Regions from separate parts of the Homo sapiens genome. Here region 1 is linked to region 2. Evidence: promoter capture Hi-C in human tissues and cell types (Jung and others, 2019). All regions are on one chromosome and are shown on one strand. Each heading gives the region's core, a stretch centred on a gene start or on the middle of the fragment in contact. The rest is flanking DNA. Distances are from core to core; before and after follow the strand shown. Region 1 overlaps GNAI2 (G protein subunit alpha i2). Region 2 holds the start of IP6K1 (inositol hexakisphosphate kinase 1).

The links. The method cuts DNA at HindIII sites, captures the fragments that hold promoters and counts their contacts. A contact is called where the count stands out against the background at its distance.
Region 1: a contact is called between a fragment that was not itself captured here and the fragment with the promoter of IP6K1 in region 2, in 1 of the 25 tissues and cell types used here (lymphoblastoid cells).

Annotation. Positions count from the first base shown.
Region 1 is chr3:50,244,780-50,249,725 of GRCh38, reverse strand. All of the region lies in intron 1 of GNAI2 (G protein subunit alpha i2), which reads right to left. Among named protein-coding and RNA genes, the nearest start is that of GNAI2, 11 kb to the right of the region's middle. RefSeq lists enhancers at 2,656-3,371, 3,540-3,639, 3,372-4,087. The HindIII fragment of the contact is 4,753 bases long and covers 1-4,225 here.
Region 2 is chr3:49,782,896-49,788,370 of GRCh38, reverse strand. IP6K1 (inositol hexakisphosphate kinase 1) reads left to right here and starts at 1,829. Exons shown (of 6, transcript NM_153273.4): 1 at 1,829-2,017. RefSeq lists silencers at 1-185, 966-1,130, 1,866-2,215 and enhancers at 1,306-1,375, 1,462-2,151. The HindIII fragment of the contact is 27,523 bases long and covers 1-5,453 here.

The DNA of each region.
Region 1 (4,946 bases), core at 600-3,099, 460 kb before region 2:
TGGGGAGTGACAGCTAGTTGGGTATGAAGTTTATTTTTGAGGGTGGTGATTATGTTCTGGAATTAGATAGCAGTGATGGTTGCACAATCTTGTGGACATACAAATGTGCAGGCCCTGGGAAGGCTGGGGCGCTGTGGCTGGGGCAGCAATCCCCTCTATTGCTTTAGCCCCTGGGCACTACAGGGGCCGGGCCCAGTATCTTCACTGGGGTGTGTACCGGGATATATACCAGCACCACTCCCTCCCCATTGGGCTGTGCATGGCAAAGGGGCAGCCAGGATCTGCATACCAACACTCCTCCACCTGCCAATGAGGACATGGGGAAAGGTCCCAGGAAAGCCTCACAGCGATGCCTGAACACTTAAGGCCCATCCCCCTGGGGCTCAAAGCACCCACTGGGGCAGGGAGGGCAGCAGTGGCTACCTGACTGTCTTCCCCACTGGCTCCTCCAGAGCAGGAGGAAGAACCAGGAGCCAGTCACAGCCAGGATGGGGGGAACTGCAGGAGCAGAGGCCAAGGATGCGAAGTCATGGGTCCCCATGCAGTCCCGAGCCAGGCGAGCTCAGACTCAGCAGGGAAGCTACCCAGGGCATGGGGGACCTGAGGTCTAGGGTGAAAGCTTCCCCATCTTGTGTGACTTCGGGACTCCTGCCCACTTGAGGCATCAGTTTCCCTATCTGGCCACTGAGAGTGAAGAGGGGGTCTGGCCTTTTGCCCACTCTTAGTAGGTGATGTGGGCCGCTTCGTGACCCTGCCCAGGGACGAGGGTGCAAACTTGCTTTGCATCTGATTTTCCTAGCAGCAGCTAGACCTGGTAGACATGAGGTAGGCAGCACAGAGCCAGTCACACTAGGAGCCAGGATATCTGCTCCCTGCCCCAGCCAGGGAGGGCCCACTTCCCTGTCCCCTTCAAGTTTCATTTTCCCCTCCTAAGGCCTCTTAAATGTTAAGAGAACATTCTCTATCCCAAGCAGGGGTCACTGAAAAAAGAGTTCCACTTGACAGGTAAGCAAATCAAGGTCATGGAGCCCCTATCCCTAGACTCAGGCTGGTCTCTTTGTCTTTCCAGCAGCTGTGACTCAGGCGGGAAGTAGTGAGTGGCAGGACAAGGGTGTGGTGCTGGCAGCCAGGCAGGAAGCAGGGGGAACAACGGGACAGAGGCAGGGGCACAGCCCAGGAGCAGCTCCAGCAGAGAAGGGGGACAGGAGCAGAGGTGGGTGGAGCCCCAGGATGGCATCTGGGTGGAATGGGTGGGGTGAAGAGCTCTCGGGCAGCCCACAGGCTAAGTGCCCTGGCAGCTGTGGGGTAGTAGCTTCACTCTCCCCATCTCTGGCTGGGTCCTCTTTCCATCAGGACCTGAGGGATGCCCCCTACCAGATAAGCTGGCAAGAGGCTTATCTGTGAGTTTTGCACACACCCAGCTCCCCTCGCACCTGCCTCTCAGAGGGGTGGCTGAGTCCAGATTTTTTTTTTGAAACACAGTCTCGCTCTGTTGCTCAGGCTGGAGTGCAATAGCATGATCTTGGCTCACTGCAACCTTTGCCTCCCGGTTCAACCTCTGCCTCCCGGTTCAAGCAATTCTCCTGCCTCAGCCTCCCCAGTAGCTGGGACTACAGGCATGTGCCACCACGCCCGGCTAATTTTTGTATTTTTAGTAGAGACAGGGTTTCACCATGTTGGCCAGGCTGGTCTCGAACTCCTGACCTCAAGTGATCCACCTGCTTTGGCCTCCCAAAGTGCTGGGATTACAGGCGTGAGCCACCGCGTCCAGCCTGAGTCCAGATTTCTGCAAAGATGCTGGGTAGGGGAACTGAGGCAATAGAAGGTGGCATGAATCAGCCCCTCCTGCCCGCAGAGGGCCCCACCAAGTGCTCTGTCCCCAGCTGGGTAAGACCAGAGAGGCCTGCAGAGGTTCCCTGGGGTGGCCTTGGCATTCCCACTGAGTCACACCTCTTCCCACCAAGGAAGAAACCTCTGCAGCCTTTGCCCTGTGGCGCAGTTAGGGCCCACAGCAGGTAGGCAGTAATCATAGTGATGTGCTGGGTGGTGGCAGCTGCTCTGCACTAGAACATCTGCTTCCACTTTGGGAGTGCTGAGCCCCAGAGGAGGGAACCGATGAGAGAAGGGAGACAGTACCACTCCACCTGCGTGAACAAGACCAGCAGGGCCCCTGCAGCAGGAGAGACAGGCCCACAGGTCTTGTCACTTGATGCTTAGTCCAGGCCCCAGCATTCAAGTCACAGCATCTGTTCATCTTGGACCCTCTAACTCCTTAATAGGCTTTGATCTGCTGGGAGGCTGGGACTTGCTACTATCCTTTCTGGCTTCAGTTTCCCCTGGGCAGAGCTGTCAAGCCTCAAGCAGCCAGCCAGCCTGCCTCCCATTTTCAGATCCTCTCCCAGAAGGAGGTCCAGACTTGCCACAGCCCTGATGTCCACTCTGATCCTTCCTGAGATCCTCAAGAGCTTCAGCTCCTTTCCTGCCCTTTCTCTGGCACCTCATCTGTGAAATGGGACAACGCTGTCTCCTTCTGAGAGATGGGTAAGGATTAAATGCAAAGCTCTTCTCACAGTGTGGGGCACATGTGAGCATTCAGGTAAAAGTTATCACTATTTATCTACCCTTTGAAAGAGTACAGATTTCCCCAAACCTCTCATTTCCTGCAACCTGCAGAGAAGACTGCTGTGGTCATCTCATTTGAAGGAAAGCTTCTGAAGATTTTCAGATAAAGAGCAGATGAAGAGCAATGGACAGCGGCTAACAGGCTGATTCAGAGCTGTGGTGGTTCCCTGCTGGGACTCAGCATAACCTGGGACAGGAGTCAGAGCTACTGGCTCCTCTGTTGGCTTTCCGCTGTGTCGTCACTTCCCTTCAGTATAACCCGGCACTCCTACACAGCTGGGGCCTCCTTCCTGCCCAGGAGCCTCACTGCTGACATTGCTCACTGGCTGCACACACCCAGAAAGCCAGGCACACCTCCCTGGAGAGAACCCCCATACTGGTGGGCTCCGTGGGAACACGTGGGGCCAGGAAGAGCAGCCAGCTGACGTGGCAGGCCCGAGGGCAGAGATTCTCAGAAGCAGCAGCGGCTGGGACCACAGGGTAGACTTGGGCAGCGGCCCAGCTCAAACCCACAACACCAGGCCCGCCCACACTGCCACAACTCCCCAGCCTATCCCAGTGGGATATGGTGGGGCAGGTGGGGGTAGCCCTGAGCCCACCACAAAGGCAGCCCGGACACCACCTCCTTCTCTTATCCCAGGAAGGTGCCACATCTCCAGCTCAGCCTGTGGTTCTCAGATCCCGTGCACCCCCACGTCCCCTGCAGTCCTAGGGACCCATGCCCCGCCACCACCAGGGGGCGCCCGGCAGCCGGAGACACTGTGGAAGGAAGTGGGGGCTGGGCAGCACTGGGGAGCGTTTTGTTTCAGAAAAGCAGCCTCAGCCAGGGGCGACTGGGGAAGGTGTCCCACCCACCAGCCCGTCCCTGGGAAGCCCCCAGCCTGCAGAGACTCGGCACACACAGAAACCATGGCAACGGGAGGGAGGGGCAGAGACCCCGCCAGACAAAGGCCCTCTGAGCCCCGCCCCTGGCGTCTCTTCCTTCCTCCAGGTGCTGCTCCCCGGCCCCCCTCATTCCCTCCGAGAAGGCTCAGCACGGGTCCGGCACTGGGAGGCAGGGACTCGAGGTCTTGAAAGGGACCGGCAACACTCCCACCCATGTGTGTGGCATGGCCCTATAACGGATGCCTGAACAGACCAACAGACTCCACACCTCCCTCCCGCCAGTCTCTGGCACTCGGCTGCCTCCAGCGGCTTCCAGGGGTTCACAGTGCCCAAAGGGGAGCACTACCAAGCAGGGCCTGGCTTCCTACTGCCAAGTCAGAGATCTCTGTGTTAGGGAAACTGAGGCCTCAGGTCCTGCCCACACATGGGAAAGTCTTTCTGGGGCAAGGTGTGTCTCCCTCAGTGGGGCCCTTTCCACTGCACAGAGGGAAACTCAGGCACCGGGTGAGGAAGGCTGGCCTGATATAAAGGAGGCCCCAGACCTGTTCATCGCTGGCGCCTCAGGCCCCAGGTACCGCCTGTGCAGGAGCCAGGAGGTGCTGGACAAGACGCGGATCACGCGGAGCTGGGCCATTTGGCACCGTCTCCCTGGAGGCCTCTTCATTTCAGGCATCCCTCCGCTGTTCCCAAGGCACCTGAATGACCTCTTTTCCCTTCTGATTCATGGCGGTGGACTCTGGGAAAGATAACGGGAGCCTAGGCCTCATCTATGAAATGTACCCCTTGAGGGAGGGTGCCAAACCCAAGGCCTGCCCTGAGTAGCCTCTTCAAAGTCACCCCAAACTGCCTCAGGGCCCAACCCAAGCCAGCAGCTGTCCTTGTGTCCACAGGCCAGGAGACCATGCTAAGAATCACGGCACTGGCGGGGCGGGGTGGCTCACGCCTGTATTCCCAGCACTTTGGGAGGCTGAGGTGGGCGGATCACCTGAGGTCAGGAGTTCGAGACCAGCCTGACCAACATGGAGAAACCCTGTCTCTACTAAAAATACAAAATTAGCCGGGCATGGTGGCACATGCCTGTAATCCCAGCTACTCTGGAGGCTGAGGCAGGAGAATCACTTAAACCTGGGAGGCGGAGGTTGTGGTGAGCCGAGATTGCATCACTGCACTCTAGCCTGGGCAACAAGAGCGAAACTCAGTCTCAGAAAAAAAAAAAAAAAATCACAGCATCACAGATTCTAGTGCTGGATACAGAGAGGGAAGAGGACAGTCTGAGGTCTCATGGTGAGGAACTGGACCCTCTGGGACCCACAGTCTTGGGTGGCCATGAGGATGCACGGGTCTCTGCTCTGTGCATGGCTTCATGGCCCAGAGAGGCTTGGACGCTTCTGCTCTGGCTCTCCTAAGCCTTCCTCAGCCCCCTCAGTCCCTTACGGCCT
Region 2 (5,475 bases), core at 580-3,079:
TCCTGGAGGATTAGCAGAATCCCCCTTTTGAGGGTTGTTGGCTTTTCTTCCTGATCTGTTTCTTCTGGTTCCTCTGCTCTCACATCTCCCTGTGTTGACCTGAGCTATTGCATGTAGCCAAGTGGCCTGCAGCAATCTGCTGGTGGGCAGGTCTTGCTGGATGCAGTGTTGGCCCACTCTCCATGCCCAACCTGACATCAGGTCTCAGGCTTCTGCCAGCTCTCCAAGAGGACCTTACTGTGGTAAATCCAAGTTATCACAGTCTTTACTCGTCTGTTGAGTCTGTGGGCCTGAACCCCCTCAGGGTACTGGAGAACCTCCCTTTTTTTTTTTTGAGACAGAATTTTGCTCTGTCACCCAGGCTAGAGTGTGGTGGCGTGATCTCAGCTCACTGAACCTCTGCCTCCCAGGTTCAAGTGATCCTCCTGCCTCAACCTCCTGAGTAGCTGGGATTACAGGCACCTGCCATCACGTCCAGCTAATTTTTGTATTTTTAGTAGGGACAGGGTTTCACCATTTTGGCCAGGCTGGTCTCGAACCTCTGACCTCAAGTGATCCACCTTCTTTGGCCTCCCAAAGTGCTGGATTACAGGCATGAGCCACTGCGCCTAGCTAGGAGGACCTCCCCTTCTGAACCAGTTATGGTATCCCAGGGCCAGGAAGAAGCTGAAAGCCTTCTGTGGGAACAAAACAAAGCAAAACAAAAACGCTTCATGGGGCTTCCACCAAAGTTAGTGTTTTAAGGCACGCCTCAGGAACAGCAACTTGGAAGCAGGTTGTTCCAGGAAGTGGTTGTAGGCAGATTTTTCCTGAGTTCTTCCCCTGCTCTGAGGGCTCATTAAATCTTCCTCTGAGAAGCTCCACTTTTATCTTCATTTTACAGATGGGACAACCAAAGCTAAAGAGAGGCTAAGGCTCAAAAGTCAGAGTTAGCTAGTTGGGGCATTTGGGTGTGGGCCCAGGCCACGTAACTTCATCTGTTGTTCTAAGCCTGAAGCCAAGCCCAGAGTTAGGTGTTCTGTATGGGGAGCAAGGTGTGACCATCTTCCTGGGACCATTAGTCTGCTTGGGAGGCCGGTCATGACAGTCCAGGGCAAAAGATGCTGTCACAGGATCTCAAGACAAGATGCTCTAGGGAAGAGAAAAGGGAGTGCCCGCTGTGTGTCAGGACTTGTGCTAGGCTCTAAACCTCAGGCAGGAAAGCATGGGCAATGAGCCAGAGGCTGCTGTGGCAGCACAGACTGCGGTACCTCGAGGCTAGTAAGGGACAAAGCGTGGGAAGCTGGGATAGAGGCTCCTCACACTCTGAAACCAGCAGGAGGAGGTGCGAGACCCAGCACCTCCATTTCTAGAGGTGGCGTGACCTTGGCTCGGCCTCCCCTCTCTGAGCCTCAGTTTCCTCTCCAGAGTGAACTGGGGGCTGCACCCCCCTTCTCCCAGAGTGGGGGACAAAAAAACGAATAGCACACCGCTGAGATTCCCTGTGTGTGCGCAAGTGTATGACAAGACGCCGCCGGTACCGCACGAGGGCCAGGGACGCAGAGAGGCCAAGGGCGCTCCGGCCTCGTAGTAGCCAGCGAAAACTCCGCCGCCAGCCACTCCGGGAACGAAGCGCATGCGCCAACCCATGCCGTCACAGTCACGTGCCCCACGCTTTCGGCAGAGGCCCTGAGAGGCAGACTCTGACTGACACGTGAGCTGACCTGTCAGCAGGAAGCACTTCCCCTGGCGACGAGCAAAAAGACTGTTGATTGGGGATAGCACCCCCTCGGGGGCGGGTTCTTTGCAGTCCTGGTTACTATGACGCCCGGCCCCCGCCCCCTCGGCTAGCCGCCATCTTGTTGTTGATCCGTACCCAGTGGGCAGCGCCGGGAGCTGGACCAAGCGGCCGGTGAGAGGCCGCTGTAGCGGTGCTCAGCCACCTGTGCTGCCTGCCAGGGGGCGGGCCGAAACCTGGAGGCCCGGGGGGCCCAGCTCCCGTAGGGAGCCGTGGGCGCTCGGTGCCCGGGCCGGGCAGGTGAGTGACAGGAGCCGGGCCGATAGACCGGCCTGACGCCCGCGGGGAGGGCGGTGGCGGGCGCGGGGTTGGAGTGGGCGCGTGTGGGGTCGGGGCTCCGGTGGGGCCATCACTGGAACATCGCTCGAGCGTCCTGACCGGCCGCCCGCCGAGCCTCCCAGATGCTGGCACCGAAGCCGGGGGGACAGCCGGTGTGGAGGACGGAGAGCGCCAGTGCCTGAGGGTTGGCCGGCTAGTAGCGGGAAACCAGCTTCTCTGACCGAAGCTCTGGACTCCGCTGATCCGGAGCGCTAAAGTGTGTCCGGTGCCACCCTGATGCTCTCCTGGGAGTTATGTTGCTCCTGGCTGAGAAATAGACTTACCTCTTTCTTAGATAGCGTTCCTGCGAGTGATTTTCAGGACGCTGGATGCTAAGACTAGACGAAGCAAGCCAAAGCCCCCGCGAGCCAGGCAGGCCGGTGTCACGGCCCTATGATTATGGCAAGGGGGACCCTCTGCCTGGCTGCTGCTTCCTGAGACCCGTTCGGAACCTCACGTGTACCTCGAAGCTCACCGTTTTCCTCGCAAAGAACCTGGTTAAATGTCCATAATGGCTGAGTTTTATTTTGGAACATAATTTCTTTGGTTCTTCACCACCACTTTTTGGAGAGTGGTAATGTCTTCCTCTTTTTGCTTTAGGAGAAAGTGAGTATTATGGTGATGACTTGATTTTATCTCCTAAAGGGATGCTCGCCATAGGAGACAAAGGAAACGTAGGAGTGTCTTAGAATCGGAAAAAGAAACTTGTTTTTGTTGTGGATGATATGGAACTGGCAAATTAACTGTTTTTTTTCTTTTTTTTCTTTTGAGACAGAGTCTCTCGCTCTGTTGCCCAGGCCGGAGTGCAGTGGCGCGATCTCGGCTCACCACAGCCTCCACCTCCCGGGTTCAAGCGATTATCCTGCCTCAGCCTCCCGAGTAGGTAGGACTACAGACACGCGCCACCATGCCCGGCTAATTTTTGTATTTTTAATAGAGACGGGGTTTCACCATGTTGGCCAGGCTGGTCTCGAACTCCTGACCTCGTGATCCACCCCCCTTGGCCTCCCAAAGTGCTGGGGTTACAAGTGTGAGCCACTATGCCCGGCGCAAATTAACTTTTAACAGTACTAAAATTATCTTGCTCAGTGAAAACACCTTCAAGCCCCTTTCCTGTGAATTTGGGCAAGTTGGAGATCCTCAGTAGAGTGTGCAGGTCTAGGAAGAGTTCTCATTGCTCCAAAACACATTTCTCTTGACCTGTGGCCTCTTTGGTTCTTTGTACAGTCTTCTTGTATGTGGTCATAGAATATGCCTGCATGAGATGACTAAGAAGTCAAGCGACAATACTTTGTGCACTTTTTGTTTTGTTTTGTTTTGTTTTGTTTTTTTGAGATGGAGTCTTGCTCCGTTGCCAGGCTGGAGTACAGTGGTGCCATCTCGGCTCACTGCAACCTCTGACTCCCTGGTTCAAGCAATTTTCCTGCCTCAGCCTCCCGAGTAGCTGGGACTACAGGCACGTGCCACCACACCTGGCTAATTTTTGTATTTTTAGTAGAGACGGGGTTTCACTATGTTGGCCAGACTGGTCTCGAACTCCTGACCTCATGATCAACCCGCCTCCGCCTCCCAAATTGTTGGGATTACAGGCATGAGCCACCGCGCCAAGCCTACTTTTTTTTTTTTTTTCTGAGACGAAGTCTCGTTCTCTCACCCAGGCTGGAGTGCAATGGCACAATCTCAGCTGACTGCAACCTCTGCCTCCTGGGTTCAAGCAAGTCTCCTGCCCCAGCCTCCCAAGTAGCTGGGATTACAGGTGCGTGCCACCATGCCCGGCTAATTTCTGTATTTTTAGTAGAGACCTGGTTTCACCATGTTGTTCAGGCTGATCTCGAACTCCTGACCTCCTGATCCGCCTGCCTTGGCCTCCCAAAGTGCTGGGATTACAGGCGTGAGCCACTGTGCCTGGTCACGCGCCTAGCCTACTTTGTGCACTTCTATCAGGATCTTGTCACCTCTGAATGTATAATTTTGAAAGAGGCCAGGTGCGGTAGCTCATGTCTGTAATCCCAGCACTTTGGGAGGCTGAGGCGGGCGGATCACCTGAGGTCAGTAGTTAAGAGATTAGCCTATCCAAAATGGCAAAATCCCATGTCTACTAAAAATACAAAAATTAGCTGGGCGTGGTGGTGCATGGAGGCTGAGGCAGGAGAATCACCTGAACCCGGAAAGCGGAGGTTGCAGTGAGCTGAGATCGCGCCACTGCACTCCAGCCTGGGTGACAGAGTGAGACTCAGTCTCCAAAAATAAATAAATAAATAAATAATAAATAAAATAATAATTTTGAAAGAAACCAGCTCCTTGGTCAGGAGATCCTTTAGGAAAGCAGGTGCTGAACCCAGAGGACGCTGGCAGCTTGTTGCTGTTCGACTGAGTTTATACTGCACTTGTGAGGCAAGGGAGAAGTTGAGTAGTCTTTAGTTATTTATTTCATTGTCCTTCAGGGCCATTTTTTGAATCTTTAGTTCATTATAATCTTGGTAAGACCAGTTCCTTGGGCAGTTCTTGAAAGGAGGGGGATATTAAAATATTAGCTTTTCTTTCTTTCTTTTTTTTTTTTTTTGAGACGGAATCTCGCTCGGTTGCGCTGGCTGGAGTGCAGTGGCATGGTCTTGGCTTACTGCAAGCTCCACCTCCTGGGTTCACGCCATTCTCCTGCCTCAGCTTCCCAAATAGCTGGGACTATAGGCACCTGCCACCATGCCCGGCCAATTTTTTTGTATTTTTAGGAGAGACGGGGTTTCACCGTGTTAGCCAGGATGGTCTCGATCTCCTGACCTCATGATCCGTCTACCTCGGCCTCCCAAAGTGCTGGGATTACAGGCGAGAGCTACTGCACCCAGCAAAAATATTAGCTTTTCAAAATTGTCCCAAGCCCCTGCTTTTTTTTTTTTTCTGAGACAGGGTTTCACCATGTTGGCCAGGCTGGTCACTCCTGACAGGTGATCCACCTGCCTCAGCCTTGGCCTGGGATTACAGGGGTGAGACACCACACTGGCTGTCATTTGCATTTTTAAAAATTACTTATGTAGAGATGGGGTCTCAGTTGCCCAGACTGGGCTTGAACTCCTAGTCTCAAGTGATCCTCCTGTCTTGGCCTCCCAAAATGCTAGGATTACAGGCATGAGCCACCATGCCTGGCCTTTTTTTTTTTTTGAGACAGAGTCTCACTCTGTCGCCCAGGCTGGAATGCAGTGGCATGATCTTGTCTCACTGCAACTTCCGCCTCCTGGGTTCAAGTGATACTCCTGCCTCAGCCTCCCGAGTAGCTGGGACTACAGGAGTGCGCCAGCACGCCTGGCTAATTTTTTTTTTTTTTTTTTTTTTTAGTAGAGCCGGGGTTTTGCCATGTTGGCCAGGCTGGTCTCAAACTCCTGACC